Linked DNA regions of Homo sapiens: region 1 is linked to region 2. Evidence: promoter capture Hi-C in human tissues and cell types (Jung and others, 2019). All regions are on one chromosome and are shown on one strand. Each heading gives the region's core, a stretch centred on a gene start or on the middle of the fragment in contact. The rest is flanking DNA. Distances are from core to core; before and after follow the strand shown.

Region 1 (4,887 bases), core at 40-2,539, 1.1 Mb after region 2:
GGTTGCAGTGAGCCGAGATCACACCTCTGCACCCTGGGCGGCAGAGTGAGACTCTGTTTCAAAGATAAAAATAAAAATAAATAAATAAAGGAATCAAGTGAAATATGTTCTATGAATTATTTTCTCCCACTGTATTAAAAAATCAGACTTTAACAGTTATTTAGCATGGACTGGGATAACACACTGAGCAGGGAATTTGAGAAAAAAATTGCTGAATAAAGGTAGGAAATTTAGGAGGTTTGGGTTTTGATTATATCTGACACTGACTAACTCAGTCATTATGCTTTAATAAAAAAGGATGGCAATCTGAACAATTAATAAAGATTGCTGAAGCTGCAATGGTCTCTTGTGAGCAGTAAAGCTCTATGGTATCACAGAATTGGCTCTGTATCTGAAAATCAACATTCTATACTGCTTTCTTGATCCCCAGGGGTTTTTTAAAGTGCTGACAACCTAAGGTAAAATTTATTTTTGTTTGGAAAATATTTTTCTTTATGTGTTTTATAATATATTGATTTTTTTTTTTTTTTTTTTTTAAAAAGAGAGAGTCTTACACTGTCACCCAGGCTGGAGTGCAGTGATGTGATCACAGCTCACTGCAGCCTTGATCTCCTGGGCTCAAGCAATCCTCCCATCTCAGCCTCCCGAGTAGCTGGGACTACAGGTGCGTGCCACCCTGCCTGGCTAATTTTTAAATTTTTTTTTTGGTAAAGAGTGGGAGTCTCACTATGTTGCCCCAATGTCATGAGTGTTATATTAAAGTTGCTTATTAGAGCTATAATATCTGCATATTTAAGAAAGAAAGTTGAGAGATCCTCCGAGTAGGAGATAAACTGATGATTCCTTGATTGCCAATATGTAAGCTTTCTCCACATAGTCATAAAGTATAGCATCATTTTAGCTTTTAGACCTTAGACTTATTAACCTTGTAATGTCTCAGTTTTCAGTTTGTAAAATAGGAGTAATAAATAGTACCTACACTTCATATCCTGCTTATGAGGATTAAATCTACTGAACACCTACTATATGCTAAGGGCATAGTGGTGAATGAAGCACTCCTCCAGCACAGTAAACACACAATTATGTATGGCTGTTGTTATCTTGGAAATGTCAGAGATAGCTCACAGAATAGGTTTCTGTGTGCAAGCTAAAGGTATACAGACATTTAAAAATTCTCTGTATATTTAAAAATTGTTGGCAAGTGAGGAGAGAAACTATAGCAGATTCAGAAACAGGATTCTTTCCATAATCCAGGTTCTTGTCTTCTGAAAGGGACTAATGATGCAGGTTGACTTTAGTAGGCCTTGAGCCATCTTTTTATCCTTCACCTCATAAAACTCTGGAATTTCAACCAAATACTTTTACAGAAGTAGTTAACCAATGAGCAATTTCCAACAGATTTTAGGAAAAAGCTTTTCATTACAGAAAGGATTTGAATATGACTCGACAGTTTTCACTACAAATTCTCTTTGCATACATATATCTGGTAATCTGGCCAAACAGAGGTCTAGGTGTGTGACTATGGGAATATATAAAGTAAAAGGGCAAGTTTCTTTCATTTTTTTTTTTTTTTTTGGAAACAGTCTCACTCTGTTGCCCAGGCTGGAGTTCAGTGGTGCAATCTCGGCTCACTGAAACCTCTGCGTCCTGGGTTCTAGCAATTCTCATGCCTCAGCCTTCCCAGTAGTTGGAATTACAGGTGTGCACCACCACACTCAGCTAACTTTTGTACTTTTAGTAGGGATGGGGTTTTGCTGTGTTGGCCAGGCTGGCCTCAAACTTGTGGCCTCAAGTGATCTGCCTACCTCGGCCTCCCAAAGTGCTGGGTAACAGGCATGAGCCACCACGCCCAGCCTTGGAAGTTTCTCAATATCGTCAATTTATAAAAGGTTAGAAATCCTCTGTGAATGAGCAGAAAGTCCAGTAGGTGGGAAGATGAAAATGACAAAGAATGGTAGAGGATAGTATTGCTAGAGGGTATAAGCCTTAAATAAGCCAAAGGTATTTACATAAAAAGGGTTGAGTAATGACTTAAAAGCAGCCATGGCATGTGAGAAAGAGGCTGATATCATCTCTTAAGATTCAGGGTCACGGAAGATGAGCAGCAAGCATTTGATAGGGCTGCAGAGGAAACAAATTTTCTGTGGAGGCCCAGGTTTCAAGACAGACCTAAAGCATGTACAGTTCCAACAACATGGGGCCAGAATGACTCGGCTTCCATGTGAATTCTCATGAAGTTTCTGGGGTGGTGGAAGGACTATGAGCCTTGCCACAAGGAGTCAGTAGAGCCCAGGCTTGACTGGGCTGCGAGGGAATCCTACACCAGGTGTGTAGGCTACAAAGACCAGCTTCCAGAACCTTCGCCATGTAATTACAACAAATATAGTAGATACTGGTAGATTTGGGGAAAAGAGTACTGCCTTCTCTGAAGCTGGTCACAGCCCAACCCTATTTTATTTTATTTTTTGAGATAGGCTCTCACTATGTTGCCCAGGCTGTTTTTTTTTTTTTTTTTGGATACAGACTTTCACTCTGTTGCCAGGCTGGAGTGCAGTGGCATGATCTTGGCTCACTGCAACCTCTGCCTCCCAGGTTCAAGCGATTCTCCTGCTTCAGCCTCCTGAGTAGCTGGGACTACAGGTGTGTACCACCACGCCCAGCTAATTTTTGTATTTTTAGTAAAGACTGGGTTTCACACCATGCTGGCCAGGATGGTCTCGATCTCTTGACCTCGTGATCCACCTGCCTCGGCCTCCCAAAGTGCTAGGATTACAAGTGTGAGCCACCAGGTTTTAAACTCCTGGGATTAAGAGATCCTCCTGCATTAGCCTCCTGAGCAGCTGATATTACAGGAGCATACCATGATTTTAATCTTATTTAAAAAAACCTACATTCATTGGGATTATTAATTCTCATTTTAGATAATAATTTAACATATATTAGAGGCCAAAATCAAGAAGTTAAGAGGAATGGCCTATAGAATTAACACAGATGATTATATAACCTTTTACAAGTAATTTTTAACTGTTCTGTAGTACAGTTTCTTGTTTTTAAAAAATTGCCTATGATAATGTCTTACTCCCCTTCTTTATCACAGGCAAATAAGACCATATTTGTCAGAGCTCTTTGGAAGAAAACAGTAAAAAAAAAACAGATGCTATTAAAGATAACTGCCAAACTAGAAAATCTTGCTAAGAAAATTATAATTGACAACTTAATGCAGACAACAACATAATGCTAGGACAATTCAGGATTTATCATTTTTAAGACTTGGTAAACACTAAAAAATAAGACTAAAGTACTTTGGAATGAAATGACAACTTCTATCTATATAGCCTTGAGAATAGAGTATTCAAATTAATTAACCATATACCACTTTATTAATAACCAAAGAAATACAAATTAAAACAATAAAATATCATTTTTTGGTCTGACCAGCCAAAAATTTTAAAGACTGATAATACTTAATGTTGATGAGTGCAGTGCTCATTTCTCTTAACACTGCTGGTAGGTAGATACATTGGTACAATCTTTTAGAAGAGCAATTTGACAATACTTATCCAGACATAAGTGTACGTCTTTTAATTTCACAATTCCATTTATAAAATATGACTTACCAAAACATTATTAAATGCACCACTGTTTGTTTAAAAAATGGGTAACAATTTAAGTATAAATTTGCTGGTGGAATTACAATAAATAATTGTCATGTTATTTACATGAGAAATACATATATATACCAAACACTCATACTCTAATCTGTTTTAATCTGAAATTCATTTCAACAGAAAGCCATACTAATTTATTGAGCAAAAGATTATAGGTGTATTTCAGACATGCATTAAAAAGGGCTGTAAGAAAAAAGACTATAGGTGTATTTCAATATAAATAAAATTAGAAAAATATTTCTGCTTTCGTATCATGACTTTGGGGAAGTACATATTAAAGTACTTTTATTATTTTAAAAAATAGGTAAGTAATGCTTTAAAAAAGAGAATGAGAGACACCCCTTTCATAAATACCCCTTAAATCAATTAGAATTGCCACTTAGGTATGAGGATGAAAAATGACTTTGTACTGATTAGCTGTTAATATAAAATAAACATATGTTACTATGTAGTAAGAAACGCAATTAAGACCTAAAATGAAAGACTCTTAATGAGACACTCATTAGGAATTAGGGTAAACTGAATGTAGAAAACTACATATTCCACATCAAAGCTGTATTTGCTTATTTCAACAGCCCTCTGGTCTTTGAAATTATGACTAAACTCCATATACATTTACAACAATACAATGCAAATAGTGTCCAAAACAGCATTTTTAATATGCTGCAATTTAAAGTAATGGCTGCCTTGTCCTTCTTTCCTTAGACTATTAGACCAGCAAAATCATTGATAAGAAGAATCAGGCCAGGTGTGGTGGCTCACACCTGTAATCCTAGCACTTTGGGAGGCTGAAATGGGTGGATCACCTGAGGTCAGGAGTTCGAGACCAGCTTGACCATGGTGAAACCCTGCTGTCTACTAAATATACAAAAATTAGCCAGGCATGGTGGTGGGCGCCTGTAATCCCAGCTACTTGGGAGGCTGAGGCAGGAGAATCACTTGAACCTGGGAGGCAGAGGTTGCAGTGAGCCAAGATCATGCCACTGCACTCTAGCCACCGTGACAGAGCGAGACCCTGTCTCCAAAAAAAAAAAAAAAAAAAAAAAAAAAAAAAAAAAAAAAAAAGGTCGGGTACAGTGGCTCATGCCTGTAATCCCAGCACTTTGGGAGGCCGAGGCGGGCGGATCATGAGGTCAGGAGATCGAGACCATCCTGGCCAACGTGGTGAAACCCCGTATCTACTAAAAATAAAAAATTAGCCAGGTGTGGTGGCACGTGC
Region 2 (4,471 bases), core at 624-3,123:
TAAACATGTTTTCATTTCTATTAACCCATATTTTCTTTCTAATTGTTAATGCCTGCATAATCCTCTATTGTTAGATGTACCATAATTTATTTAACGATTGCCTCTCGGTGGGCATTTAGGTCGTTAACTTTTTTTATTTTTATTTTATTTATTTATTTATTTTTTGCTATAGTAACCAACTCCAGGATGAAATCTTCACACATAGTGATCATTTTTTTAGGAGAGATTCCTGGAAGAGCACAGAGGGGTCAAGCGGTGAGAGCACTTTAAAAGGCCACTCCTGGTAAAGACAGCAGCCTCCAGGTTGAAAGTCACTGTTGATAGGTTCTGAGAGCTGCGCTGAGTGCATTACCAACATTGTTATATTTATTCCTTACCACCACCCCTTCATGGTGCCTAACCGCCCCTGCTCTGTGTGGCTGATTGTAAGGTAAGGCCTGGCGTGGACCAGGCAGATGGCCCTCCTCTGACCACCACATAAAGTGGCCTCAGAAGAGGCTCCTTTCTGGGGATAAGAAGACTGCAAACTGGGAAGGAACTGGGCTTGAAAAGCAAAATGAACCCCACCCAAGAACGGTGTAGCTGGTCTTCCCAGGCTGCAAGAGGCTTTCTCCATCTCCAGGAGTTCAGCAAAGAAAAAACAATAGAGCACAAGACACATGAGGGGTGGCCAGTAAAGGCAGGAAAAGTCTCCTATAAAACCTGCTCAGCGAGTCCCTCCCTCCATCCAGTGCATTTACCCAGCAACACATCAAATCCCAGCAGCCAAGACTCTCTTAGGTTTCTCGTCTGGGTGCCCTGCCAGAACTCAGGCAGGATGGTGTGCACAGAGCCTGGCCCAGAGAAGGCGCAACGGCGGCATGAATAACTGACTACAAGAAACTGCATCTTTCCAACATGCATTCCCCAGTAAGCCACAGGTACACTGACCCTTGTGCACCAAGACTTCATCAAAGCATTATTCGTATTAACCAAAGGATGGAAAATAAGTGGTTAAATAACTGCAACTAAACCCTGTGGAAAGGCCACTCTGTATGAACTCCAAAATATATCACCATATCTCATCACAACAAAGTCACTGTGGACGGAGATGTACCATGACTTTATGCAGCATTAAGAAACACACTCACAGAGCCAATGAACTATGCTCCCATTGATTGTATAAGAAACCCAGTTTCACAGATGACAAGAGGTGGGGAAACTGTGAAACACTGTAAGTGCAAAAACCAAGTGCAGACTAATGTGTATGGCACGCTACTCTGTGTGTGTGAGAGAGAAACAGAGTGTGTGTGTTTTAAAGGAAGGGGCTTTTTTAGGCACATGTACTTTTATAGGCATAGAGAAAATTTCTGAAAAGATATACAAAAACCCGATAGCAAGAGTGGCCTCTGGAAGCCGAGTTGGAGGATGGGGATACAAGGTGGTAGGGTAACCCTCTTTTCATCCTTAGATGTATATGTAAAATCTACATTTTAAACCATATATTCTCTTTATAAAATAAAACTTTGAAAACTACTGAATGCAAAATAAAATTAAATAAAATAGCGCATCCTTCTGGGAGGATTTACGGGCATACTATCTGGAGCCAGCCTTGGATCCGGAGACCGTACGGTTATCCAATCCTGACTCTGCCATAGCGACCTCGGGCAAGTTGTCGCCCCGACTGGGTCTCGGTTCCCTCAAGAGTCCAATCGGAGGTCGGAGAGCTGCTCTCGGGGCGACCCTCCAGCTCGGAGACCCGGGCCGCGGGCACCGCGCGGGTCCCGGGCTGGAGCAGCGGTCTGCGGGCGCCCCGCGGTGCAGGCCCGGCCAATCAGCGGCCGCGGGGCGGGAGCGGTGACTGCTCGGCGGGCGCGGAGCGGAGCGCGAAGCAGAGGCGCCGCCGCTGTCCCGGAGCAAGCCATGCCGCGCTTGTCTCTGCTCTTGCCGCTGCTGCTTCTGCTGCTGCTGCCGCTGCTGCCGCCGCTGTCCCCGAGCCTTGGGATCCGCGACGTGGGCGGCCGGCGCCCCAAGTGTGGTCCGTGCCGGCCAGAGGGCTGCCCGGCGCCTGCGCCCTGCCCGGCGCCCGGGATCTCGGCGCTCGACGAGTGCGGCTGCTGCGCCCGCTGCCTGGGAGCCGAGGGCGCGAGCTGCGGGGGCCGCGCCGGCGGGCGCTGTGGCCCCGGCCTGGTATGCGCGAGCCAGGCCGCTGGGGCAGCGCCCGAGGGCACCGGGCTCTGCGTGTGCGCGCAGCGCGGCACCGTCTGCGGCTCCGACGGTCGCTCGTACCCCAGCGTCTGCGCGCTGCGCCTGCGCGCTCGGCACACGCCCCGCGCGCACCCCGGTCACCTGCACAAGGCGCGCGACGGCCCTTGCGAGTTCGGTGAGTCAGGGTCGGGGATTGGGTGGGTAGAGAAGGAGGGATTCCAACCCTCTGGGGTGTGGAGCGAAGGATCCCCCTGCCCAGTGGTGGACGGCGCTGCCTGGCACTCAGTTTCCCCTTAGGGAGCAGTATTTCATATCTCTCCTCGTGCTCAGAGAGACTGGGGCGAGAATCCTTGGAGACGCCACTCACTGTGCTAGTCGAATTTTTGGTGAGCCTGCTACCCCTTTTGGTACTTAAGTACCTGCTGATGCAGTCACTTATTTGTAGGCATGGTATGTTTGCCCAGCAGGAGACTGGGAGTTAAGGAGGGGGATCCGAGTTCCCAGGTATCCAGCGCTAGGTGGATTGTTTGAATGGGGAGGAAGGGAAGTTGAGGTTGGGGGAGGAAGGGAAGTAGAGGATAGGGGAGGAAGGGAAGTTGAGGATGCAGGAGGAGGATGAGTTCCAGACTGGGGAATCAGTAGTCACCAGGCCACAGCACCAGAGCACCAGGGCCCCCGGTGTGGGAAGGGGCTGAGCTGGGATGCTGAGGGAGCTCCATCCAGGAGAAGTAAGACCTTTGGAGACGTAAGGTCTGAAAAGATTGTGGTGCTATTAGGGGCAGACTCAGGTTTCGTGCTTCTAAAACATATATAATTTGGAGAGTCCTGCCTTAAGTAAAGGAATAGAACTGCTAGGGACTTAGAAACTTATTATGAAATGCTAGGGACTTAGAAACTTAAGCTTCATTAACATCACAGTAAAATAATCTCTGAGTGCTATAGTTGCCCACCCTCTTTATGTACCTTTTGAAAACCAAACAAAAAGAAACCAAAACGTTAGCACTGCTTTACCGGCTTCCTAAGCATGAGTGTATTCCACCCACTAGGTTTTGAAGTGCCGCTGTGTACTTTGCCTGGAGTGGGCAGTGCTGAGTTTAGGGTGAGTGAGAAGGTGGCCAGTGAGTCCCAAGGAGCCTGGGTTTCGGCCTGGAGTTCAGGCTTCTGGGAAATAATTCTGGCCTGAGCCCAGAGACCAAGTCCAGACTTTAGTGCCTAAGTCAGTGTAATGACTTAGCTTCAAGAAAGAAGCCTGGGGTGGGGTGAGACCTTTCCAAGCCTTAAGAAGTATCTAGTAGTCTTTCCTCTCAAGTAGTTCAGGTAGATGTACCCAAGTCCAGGAGACGCAATGGGTTGTTGGAGATGGGGCAGGAAGCCTCCAGTCCTGGGAAATGTAAAACCAGTGTGTGGCCAGTTGAGCACAGGAAAGTCACCATTGGCTGTTCCTAGCTGAAGCTCCCCATGGAGGACAGAGCTGGCTGGGGGTGCATCTGTGCTGCCGCTGGCTCCCTGAGTGGCCCTGGACGGGTCCCTTCCCCTCTCTGGCCATATCAGCCCCAGTGGAGTCATTGTTGAGGTCCCTTTCACTCGGAACAGTTGGTTTCCGCCCTGTGGCACTTAAACAGTCCTGTCTCTTTCCTTTTGCTAGTTCCTATCACTCGTTTTTATAACTGCTTTCCTCAGCCGTTAATTCACAGGCAATTCTCTTTGTCTCCAGACAGGTAACACTTTTAACTCCACATGCAGGAGACAGAAGAAATGCTGACCAGGTCCTCAGACTATAAATGCTGCTGATGATCTCAGATAATTTCTCCCCAGAGTGGCATTCTCTTCCTAAGAGAAAGGCACCTTAAAGACATTCAGACCAAATCTGCTGTTATACAGAGAAAGAGACTGAGACACAGCAAGGTCAGAGCCCTTGTCCAGGGTGACCAGTAAAGGATGACCAGCTCCCTGGTCCCAACACCCTGTCCAGTGCTCTTTTGGCACAGGACTTAATAGTATTAAGTCAGGCAGATGGTGGTTACCATGGTTACCAGAGTGAGGCCAGATGGCAGATGGAAACTCCATACCCCTAATTCACTGAAAATTACCAAATGACAAGTAAATGTGACAGCCCCTTCACTCTGATCTATGGGATCTGAGGCCCACCCCAGGCACAGACCCAGGGAATAAAGATATTCGTGGGGCCACATGGAAGCAACTCAGAACTGGTTTTCATGATCTCATTACTGACAGGCGTCAGGCCTCCCCGGGGTTCAGCCCTTCTTCCGCACCAGCCTTTGTG

What was found. The method cuts DNA at HindIII sites, captures the fragments that hold promoters and counts their contacts. A contact is called where the count stands out against the background at its distance.
Region 1: a contact is called between a fragment that was not itself captured here and the fragment with the promoter of IGFBPL1 in region 2, in 1 of the 25 tissues and cell types used here (dorsolateral prefrontal cortex).

The regions. Positions count from the first base shown.
Region 1 is chr9:37,306,609-37,311,495 of GRCh38, reverse strand. The region is part of intron 5 of ZCCHC7 (zinc finger CCHC-type containing 7); the gene reads right to left. Among named protein-coding and RNA genes, the nearest start is that of LINC01627, 86 kb to the left of the region's middle. The HindIII fragment of the contact is 4,334 bases long and covers 1-3,456 here.
Region 2 is chr9:38,421,856-38,426,326 of GRCh38, reverse strand. IGFBPL1 (insulin like growth factor binding protein like 1) reads left to right here and starts at 1,873. Exons shown (of 5, transcript NM_001007563.3): 1 at 1,873-2,362. The coding sequence starts at 1,903. LOC105376041 (a long non-coding RNA gene) reads right to left here and starts at 1,716. Exons shown (of 8, transcript XR_007061487.1): 1 at 1,577-1,716. RefSeq lists an enhancer at 1-828. The HindIII fragment of the contact is 5,843 bases long and covers 1-4,471 here.